2 separate regions of the Homo sapiens genome follow, and region 2 is linked to region 1. Evidence: promoter capture Hi-C in 16 types of primary human blood cells and fetal thymus (Javierre and others, 2016). All regions are on one chromosome and are shown on one strand. Each heading gives the region's core, a stretch centred on a gene start or on the middle of the fragment in contact. The rest is flanking DNA. Distances are from core to core; before and after follow the strand shown.

Evidence for each region. Contacts are between HindIII fragments. The CHiCAGO score rates a contact against its expected background, and 5 or more counts as called.
Region 2: a fragment that was not itself captured here is called in contact with the fragment with the promoter of MYL2 in region 1 in 1 of 17 cell types (megakaryocytes); the score reaches 5.2 in megakaryocytes.

What each region holds. Positions count from the first base shown.
Region 1 is chr12:110,919,329-110,924,420 of GRCh38, reverse strand. It overlaps MYL2 (myosin light chain 2), which reads left to right and starts at 3,842. Exons shown (of 7, transcript NM_000432.4): 1 at 3,842-3,894. The coding sequence starts at 3,892. RefSeq lists an enhancer at 3,034-5,092. The HindIII fragment of the contact is 13,220 bases long and covers 1-5,092 here.
Region 2 is chr12:111,206,060-111,211,151 of GRCh38, reverse strand. All of the region lies in intron 1 of CUX2 (cut like homeobox 2), which reads right to left. Among named protein-coding and RNA genes, the nearest start is that of MIR6760, 96 kb to the left of the region's middle. The HindIII fragment of the contact is 1,833 bases long and covers 1,982-3,814 here.

The sequences.
Region 1 (5,092 bases), core at 2,593-5,092:
CCACATCGGTAATATTTTTATAGCAGCAATAAGAAACAAATACACTTGGGTTTCTGATATTCTAGAAGTTGCTATTCTGATGGATCGGCCCACTGTGCTTCTCTCTGGCTTCTGACAGCCTCAAGTGAGCAGTTATTTTTCTCTTCTATTCAGTGGGACTCAGGTCTAGCTGCTGGAAACTTATTAGCTGTAGGAATCCCACAGGTAGCAAAAAGGCAGGGGTCTCAGGTCCTGTGGGCATGTGCTTCTCAGCAAGAGGCCTCCGCCACCCAGCCTTGAGGGCAGGGCACAACAGCCCCAGCCGCCCACTCGCTCCCTCCCCAGCCCCCGCAGTCTTGAGGCTGATGCTGAAAGGAACCCCTGAAGTCTACAAAGAACCAAGTCCTCCCTGGATTCTCCAATCCCAGGGCCTTGTCCCTGGTCTTGGGGGCTCCCTGGGGCAACACAACCCATTGATGAGAGAGACTTTGGATCTCTGGCTCTCTCAACAGACCCCAAGGCCTAGTCCACACCCCACGTGCTCCACGTCCCAGCAGCCACGTGGTTCCATGCCCCATTCAGGCCGCCATTTCCCAGAATCCCTAGACACAATCTCACTTAATCCTCCCAGCAGCCTTATGGAGGTGTGTGATCTCCCTTTTCCAGGTGAGGAAACAGGCCCGAGAGGGTGAGTGCCCTATTTGACAACCCCTCTTGCTATCCAGCCAGAATGGTTCCTCTAGTACCCCTTCTGGAGGCCTGGCTGTACAGGTGTCCCTCAGGGACACACACCCCCACTCGACTCTGGGGGCCCAGCCCATCCTAATCCCCACCCCGGGGCTTCCCACCCCCCATCATACACTCTCCACATCTTCTGTGGCTGCAACAACCTTTTCACTTGGCCAGTTGGAGCTACTGACTGCTCACACAGGGTTTTAACGAAAATCTATGGTGTGCCTATTAGCTAGGGAAACATTTATTCTGGTGTTGTCAGAGAACCTTGGACAGAAAAGCTCCTCTTGATGTGTGCACTGCACATATGTGGATGCGTGTACATGCACGTGTCTGTGTGCCTCTATGCATGTGCAGACGTGTTTTTGTCTGTGCATGCATGTGCCTACACACACACATGAACACATCTTTTGTTATTAAAGATCTGTCAGAAGAGTGTCCTGGGTAACTCTAACCCATGTGGGACTGCAGAGAAGAAAAAAACCCACACCTTTTTTTGTCACAGCCATCAATGGTCCTTGGGTTTGTGTGCCCCCAAATTGAGATTATTTTTCCACCTGAGAAGGGGAGTGAGTGATAGCTACCATTTGCCAGGTCTCACCTCCTTTTACCCTCTGGAAAACCTAATAAGAAAAGTGATTTCTTTTTTTAAGCTCTGGAAAACTCCAGCCCCAGGGGGCCTTCTGTTCCTCAAAGCCTCCAAATTCTCCCTGCCTTGAGGTATGTGCTGTCCCCACTGCCTGGAGCCCCCTTTGCAGACTCTGCTTGGAGGAGCCCACCTGCGCCCCTGTCTGAGGCTGTCACCTGGCCACTGCCATGCCTCTGTCTCATCCCTGCATGAGATCCGTCACTGCCTGCAACTGTCTGGGTTGTGCATTTGTTTACTTTCTCCTTGTCCATCTTCCCCTCGCACTTACGCACCTCAAGGGAAGGGAATTTGTTGCTTTGCGCTGGGCTCGATGAAGGGGAATGAATGCTGGTTCAGCCATCAGCCCCGCACCCACACTACTGGGAGGGCAGAGGGACATTCTCCTTCTTAGAGGTGTGGCCTCTGGCACTCAGGCCTGCCACCCACGGACACTAAATAACCACAATGATTCCAAGCCCCGAGTTCTTGCTCCCTGAATCCCAAGGCTGTCTTTAAGGGCACAGGAAGATGGCCATCTTTTGTTGTTTTGGTTTAGTTTGGGGTTTTTTTGGTCTTTGTTTTTGAGATGGAGTCTTGCTCTGTCGCCCAGGCTGGAGTGCAATGGCACGATCTCGGCTCACTGCAACCTCCGCCTCCTGGGTTCAAGCAATCCTCCTGCCTTAGCCTCCCAAGTAGCTGGGAGTACAGGCATGTGCCACAACGCCCAGCTAATTTTTGTATTTTTAGTAGAGATGGGGTTCTGTCATGTTGGCCAGACTGGTCTTGAACTCCTGACCTCAGGTGATCTACCCGCCTCGGCCTCCCAAAGTGCTAGGTGTGAGCCAACATGCCCGTCCTTTTTTTTTTTTTTTTTTTTTTTGAGTCAGAGTCTCACTCTGTCGCCCAGGCTGGAGTGCAATGGCGCTATCTCGGCTCACTGCAACCTCTGCCTCTCGGCCTCAAGCGATTCTCCTGCCTCAGTCTCCTGAGTAGCTGGGACTACAGGCCCGCGCCACAACGCCTGGCTAATTTTTGTATTTTTAGTAGCGACAAGTTTCATCATGTTGGCCAAGGTCGTCTTGAACTCCTGACTCAAGTGATCCACCCGCCTCAGCCTCTCAAAGTGCTGGCATTTCAGGTATAAGCCACTGCACCCAGCAGGAAAGCTGTCTTCAGTAAAAGTATTATATAATGACACCTTGCATTCTGAGAGCAGCTGCTGTTTTCAAGGCTCTTAAAGAGCCTGGACTCTGGAGACAAAGGGGCCTCCAGAGGGGTCCACGCCTAGCTCCATCACTGTGTGACCCTGGGCAGCTCACTTCGCCTCTCTGAGCTTTTGTTTCCGCATCTGTAAAATGGGGGCATGGATGATGAGGTGGTCCCCACCCTCTAGGGTGGCTGGAAAATTATGTGTGGGAGCCATGAGCACATAGTGTCCGGCACGTGCCAGTGCTCAGTCAATGAGATTTGTCATTTCTTCAGTCAACAAATATTTATTTTTGAGCTGCTGCTGTGTGCATCATGAGCTGGGAGCTGGGGAGACAGTCAGTGGTGAGGGAAACTAAAGTGATCCCTGCCCTCTGAGCTGACGCTCCACAGATGCTGAAGAAAATGAGTCAGTGCACTGTGGGCAGTGTTCGGGACTGCCTCACGCTGTGCAGAGAAACAAAGAAGGGAGATCGGAGCGCAGGAGGTGCGTGGCTGTGTTATTTGTTTGTTTTGAGACAGGGTCTTGCTCTGTCACCCAGGCTGGAGTGCAGTGGTGTGATCGTGGCTCACCACAGCCTCAACCTCCCGGGCCCAAGTGATCCTCCTGTCCCAGCCTCCTGAATAGCTGAGACTATAGGCATGCACCACCACGCACAGCTATTTTTTTTTCTTTTGCGTAGAGACAGGCATCTCCCTATGTCACCCAGGCTGGTCGCAAACTCCTAGGCTCAAGCAATCTTCCCGCCTCGGCCTCCCGCCGTGCTGGGATTTCAGGCATGAGCCACAGTGCCAGCCTTCATGGTTATTTTAAAGATGGTGGTCGGGGAGGCTTCACTCAGGAGATGACATATGAGCAAAGATGCAGTGAAGGAGGTGAAGGAAGGAGCCGTGCGATGACTGACAGAAAGACATTCCAGGTAGAGGGCACACAGGTGCAAAGACCCTGAGGCCAGATCCAGGCTGATAAAACAGAGCATTTTAGCAGTCTCCTCTCCCTGCCATTTTTTTTCTCAAAATTGACAAGCACAAGTGTCCCCGGCCCAAGCACCGCAGAGAGCGCGCAGCATCTCTCCCCGTGACCATGACCCAGCTACTGCCTCTTTAACCTTGAATGCCTTTTTGGGGGCTCACGTGTCACCCAGTGGCGAGTGAGCCACCCTTACTTCAGAAGAACGGCATGGGGTGGGGGGGCCTTAGGTGGTGCCCGCCTCACCTATGACTGCCAAAAGCGGTCATGGGGTTATTTTTAAACATGGGGAGGAAGTATTTATTGTTCCTGGGCTGCAGAGAGCTGGGCGGAGTGTGGAATTCTTCTCGGGAGGCAGTGCTGGGTCCTTTCCACCATGGTGAGTACAAGGGCTCCAGGAGGTGATGATGCCGGGTGGGCGAGGAGAGGAAGCCACTACAAGCGAGGGACCACGGCGGAGGGGGAGGAAGGCGGCCCTCAAAGCCTCCAGCCCCTTGTGGAAAAAGCCCCATTGACTGCGCGGGCACAGAGGAACCCCAATCAATGCCCCGATAGGCCACAAATAACAGCAGCTCTCGGGGACTCACAAACACAAAATAAGAGAGTTGGCTTTTTTATGGCTTGTCTACTGACCTCTCGAGGAATCAATAACTCCCAGGACTTGCAAAATGGGATTGAATGCTTTTAAGGATCAAATTGTAATTCTTTTCTCTTGTTCAGGCAGCTGGGAAAAAGAATGTTTTTGTTTTCACCTTTTGAACTTGCAAATTTAAAACCTTTCTTTCTGTGCTGTTGGGTTAGGTGTCCCCCTCCTGAAGTGGGCAGTCCCCAAATCAGGGTCAGCACAGGAGGGAGAGTGGTTAGAGGCAGGAACTCTGGAGTCAGAATGCCCAAGTTCAACTCCCCAAGTTCAACGCCCAAGTTCAACTCCGGCTCTGCCTTCTGTGTGTGTGGCTGTGTGATCTTGGGCAAGTGACCCAACCTCTCTGAGCCTCAGTTGCCTCTCCTGTAAAATGGGGATGATAATAATAGTATCCACTTGACAGAGTGGTTATGAGAATTAAATAATACATATGTAGAGTACCGAATCATTTGCTGTTATTGAAAGTCAGAGAGAAGTGGGGTGGGGAAGAAAGGTCAACTCGCTCTTCTCTGCCCTATTGATGTGGTGCAAGGACGGAGCATTCAGAGAGGAGGTTTTGCTGCCATTTGGAGCAAGGGAAAATTGTGGGGTGTGGGGCGCAGTTGGGTTTTAACACCTTGAAGAACTGTCATTTCATCTTGGCATTCATCATGGCTTAGTGAGCCTGACTTTTTCTTTCCCTCCAATCAATTCTCCTTCTGTGCATTACTGAGCTTTTTGTGAAATGCATCAGAACAAAAGTGGCTGGATCCTGCAGGGGCGATCTGAAGGTGTGGCCTCCATCCCCAGGGACACACCTGTGGCTTCTCCTAGTTGGTGAAGGAGCCACTGCAAGATGCACAAACGCTTATGATCCACTGGTACCAGAGGGCTCTGGAGAAACTTCATGTCATGTCCTTTGCTCCCTCCAGCATCACCGTTTGGAGACCTGAGT
Region 2 (5,092 bases), core at 1,649-4,148, 290 kb before region 1:
CACCAATAATAATAATAGTAAATACTCATAACTACCATTTATGGAAAGCTTACATGTACCAGGCACTATGCTAAGCTCCTAACATACATCATCTCATGGAACAAACACATTAATGTGTCTTGTCTGTATGGTGATTCAAACAGGGGCTTGGAAATATACTACAGTCAATTCTAATAACTGAGGTGTGGATTATCTCCTTGGTGGATTATAAAGGCATATTTTTTAATGCCCTTCTCTTCAGCGGGCTTCTGCTCTGCGTCTCCATCAGCTGGGGGGTGTTCAGGGCATTTGTTTTAAATGATATGGATGTGTAAAGCTTCAAGTGTTCAATAAATGTTGTCTTTTTTTTTTTTTGAGACAGGGTCTCACTCTTGTCACCTAGGCTGGAGTGCAGTAGTGCAGTCACAGCTCACTGCAGCCTCGACCTCCCAGGCTCAGGCGATCCTTCCACCTCAGCCTCCCTAGTAGCTGTGACTATAGGCATGTGCCATCATGCCTAGCTAATTTTTGCATTTTTTTGGGGTAGAGACAGGGTTTCACCATGTTGCCAGGCTGGTCTCAAACTCCTAGACTCAAGCAATCCACCTGCTGTGGCCTCCCAAAGTGTTGGGATTACAGGTGTGAGCCACTGTGCCTGGCCTTGGCTGATATTAATCTTATGTTTAGATAAACTGACAGCTAAGAAAACACCCCACCAGATCAATGATTCCAAGAATTTTGGATTTCACAGCTCAGTAAAAATTCTGTTTTAAAATGAAAGGAAGACCGGTAGAGTATTGCCAAATGTTACTGTATCAAGCAAAGACATTAAAAACCACTCCCTCCCACCCTAAAAGAAAGGATATTTGAATATCAGCAAAGCAAGAGGGCCAATGACAGCATCGGCACGGGTCTTTCATAATACACACAGCTAAAATTAAAAAGCTCATGGCACTATATCTATTTTGAAGGAATGGAAAAAAATTCTGTCACAAACATAAACCAGCACTGGTCTAAAACTGAGTTTTAGAAAGCATGTCCAAACTACCACACACACAGCTCTGGTAATCAAAAAGAAATCAGGATCTTCTCCTACCCAGCCCCTGCTGGCCCCACCAGCCCCCCAGCCCTGGGGGAGCCATGATTAACACAGCCCCAGACTTTGGGCCAGGCCCAGGCAGGGAGGAGACTCATCTGATTAACTGGCCATCAGCAGCAGACAGACAGCCCGGAGCCCGGCGCAGACCATTCAAATAATGATCATCATAAACAGCCCATTTGCAACTAAAAAGAAATAATTTTAATGAGCCTGAAGCAGATGATAGATGCAGCTGAGGCTCGGGCCAATGTGCAGAGAGAAAGGAGGCCGGGGCTGAGCTGCACCCGGGACCGGGTGCTGCAGGAGAAGCCGGGGGCTTGGAGGAAGGGGCTCTTCTGATGGGATCTGCAGTACCCCCTGGAAGTGCCCACTGCCTAGTGAGAGCCCCTGTCTCTGAGAGGGTTTGCCATTGGTGTGCTGAACAGTCTTGGGACTTAGTCCTCCAAGGCACTCAGAACATATGAGCTAGAAGGAATCCTCAAGGTCGCTCAGGTCACTGCTGTCCAAACTTTGACCACTCATGTCCCTCTGTGTGAATTTTGTCATATTGATATAGCATCTAAAATATGATTAATTAATATTTCTCTTCAAAGGGACTCCTATGGTTCTCTTTTTGAGATATGGATCACTTTAAGTTCCATAGTTCAATGTTAAGCTTAGTGAATTACAAAATTTTTTTTTAGATAGGGTCTTGCTCTGTCACCCAGGCTGGACTGCAATGGCATGATCACAGCTCACCGCAGCCTTCACTTCCCAGGCTCAGGTGACCCTCCCACAGCCTCCTGGGTAGCTGGGACTACAGGCATGTGCTACCACGCCAGGCTAGTTTTTATTTTTTGTAGAGATGGGGGTCTCGCCATGTTGCCCAGGTTGGTCTCGAACTCCTAGGCTCAAGTGAAAGCTTAGTGAATGGTTTACACCTGAGTAAGCACTACCCAGTTCAAGATGTAGAACGTTCACGTTCCTAGTGCCTGTGAAAACTCCCTAGAGTACTCTCTCCTTGTCAGTACCCCCTAAAAGTAACGATGATTTGGACCCTGGCATCACAGACACATTTTTCCTATTCCTGACTTTTACCTAATGACTCCTTCCCTTTTTTTAAACCTAAATAAGTGTATTTAAAAAGGACACTTTCTTGTCACTAGAGAATCATGTACCATAAACAGATGGTAGCCATTAAAACAAAAGTATAACCAAAAACAAATCATTGCTGCCTGTGTTTGTTATAAAAGGTTAGCAAGTGCTGGAGGGGTGTTAATGCAGTCCCCTACAGAGACTTTCTGCTTGTTGGAATGAAGAAGGGTGGAAGAGATAAGGCAGAACTGTTCCTCAGAACCCAAGTCAATCCCTTCTAACACTGGCTCTACTGAATGCTTACAATTTCATGTCCCGTCAGTGGGTATGTGTCCCACACTTCAGTAAATATGAATCATATCTGAGTCTCCCATTTAAAGATGAGAAAACGGAGGCACAGATACTTTTGGTTACCCACCCACATCACACATAGTTAAGAGGTTGGATTTTCTCAGAGGGGAGGGTGGGTCTTGGCTAGGGAAGGATCCTATGGTTGGTTATCTATGGGGAAGCAAGTCTAGCATTCTCAATTCGTCTGGGTTTCCCCAACCAGGAGGGACTGGGAATTTTACAAGAACACTTAGTTTTTAAAGTAATTTCACACCTGATCCCAAAGTGTCAGCTATATGAAGAGCCTTGGGCTAGAATCTGTGTTCTTATGAGGGGAACACATGTTAAGACACAACCTGAGATCCCGCCTATCTGTGCCCACAATCTTCTCAGCTCCAAGGACACCTCACACTCAGACATATCCCCCTAAGGCCACCTCCGAGAAGAAACCTAAAAAGTGATTGTTGGGAGCTGGGTTTAAGGAATTGAGGACCTCAGTTGTTCCTAGGCTTTAAAGAGATTCCATGAAGACAAACAATCTCTTTCTCAGTATGTCCCTCCTGGTTTAAAACCTGGCCTAGGACAATCTCCTCACTCCTGGGTGTCCCTGGGTCCCTCCCACTTCCCCTTCTCCTTGTTTCCTTCCCAGCTGGACCAAATTCCGTGCAGAAACCGAAATGCACCAGAACCTTCTGACTCCGTGGTTCCACAGTCTCCTTTCCCTCAGCTCAGATGAACTCATTCTGTCTTTGTGGTTGATCTTACTCATCTCTTTGTGTGTCAGCTTAAATGTCTCCTCTTCCAGAAAGGCTTCCCAGACACCCCTCCAAGTTAGGTGTCTGCTTTGAGCCCCTGTTAACTCTTTCTGATATTTGCTACCAGATTTTTTTTAAGCCCTAGAACATTTACACAGAAGTTCCTTATAGGAAACAATAGCTCATAGTTAACATTTATTGAGAGTCTATTACACCATATATACTAATATTTATTGAGTGCACTAAGCACTTTATGTACAGTATCTCTTGTAAGGATATGTATGTGAAGTGATGGTCGAGATTCCAGGCCAGGTTTCAGAAACAAAGATGAGCAGTGATTATGACTTCCAGTACAGTCACCAACCCCCCAAATCCAAACAGGGGCTCTGCTTTCACCTTACTACAGGGGGATGCAACCGAAGATGTTGGACCTCATCTGTCCACCCACTCATCTACCCATCCACTCGTCCATCAATGCATTCATGGTCTCTGATGTGCTAGGCATTTCATAAGGAGGATGGAAATGATAAGCCCGATATAGCCTGGATCCTCCAAGAGCTCAGAAACCAGACAAGCTTGGGTATAAGTAATTTTAGTGAAAGGTGACAAAGGCCATCATGCAGAGACATTATCTTTAGTGCAGGCTTGGAGAAGAGTGAAACCCTAACATGTCTTTTGTATTGCCTTTGGGTGGGTATGGAAACTGATCAGGCAAAGGAGAGGTAGAGCTTCAATCTACCTCTTCTAATTAAATCATAGTGTGGTCCCAAGTTGGGCAGGGGCTGCCAGTAACCACTGAAGTGCTAACCAGGCTGGAAGCCCTTTATCCAACATCCGTCCAACTACCCAACCACCATCCATTTATCCATTCATCTAATCATACATCTATCTACCCAACTAATCATCCATTTATCCATTCATCCAGACATACATCCACCCATCCAACCACCATCCATTTATGCATTCATCCAATCATACATCTATCTACCAAACCATCCATTTTCATCCAGTTATACATCTACCCATCCAACCAACCATGCCTTTATCTATTCATCCAATTATATGTCTACCCACCTAACCAACCATCTATTTATCCAACAGTTGATCATCTAGAAAAGGATCATCCATTCATCTATTCACCCAACTGATCTTGTCCAGCATCCAGGTACCCAATCACTCAAGCAGTCATCCATCCTTGGGTGGATAGGTGGGTTAGTTATCTAACCCCATCCAATCAACCATCCAACTAATCACTGGCCCAATTCTGTGTCAGGCACAGTGCTAGGTACTGGTGTACAGAAACCAACCAACACAGTCTCTGTCCTTGAGGAGTTCACAGTACAGTGTGGTAGACAAGGAGAGCCATTCTAACACTATGTGCCGACATACACTATGAGAAGTATAAAAACAGTATGACAGGAACACAGAGAGCAAGGTTACTTACTGTGATTGGGAAAAAGAGTTGCCAAGATAGGACCATCTGACCTGTGTCTGGAAGGATGAAGAATCTGTCAGATAAAGAAGCCAAGCAACCCAGGCAGAGGAAATGGGAATGTTGCAAAAGCCCTTAACTTTTTTTTTCTTAGACAGGGTTTTGCTTTGTAGTCCAGCCTGGCGTGCAGTGGCACAATCCTGGCTCACTGCAGCTTCAACCTCCCATGCCCAAGCAATGCTCCCTTCTCAGCCTCCCAAGTAGCTGGGACCATGGGTGCAAACCACCACACCCAGCTAATTTATTTTTTGTAAAGACAGGGCCTTGCTATGTTGCTCAGGCTGGCCTCAAACTCCTGGGCTCAAGCAATCCTTCTGCCTTGGCCTCCCAAAGTGCTTAGATTACAGGTGTGCACCAACTACA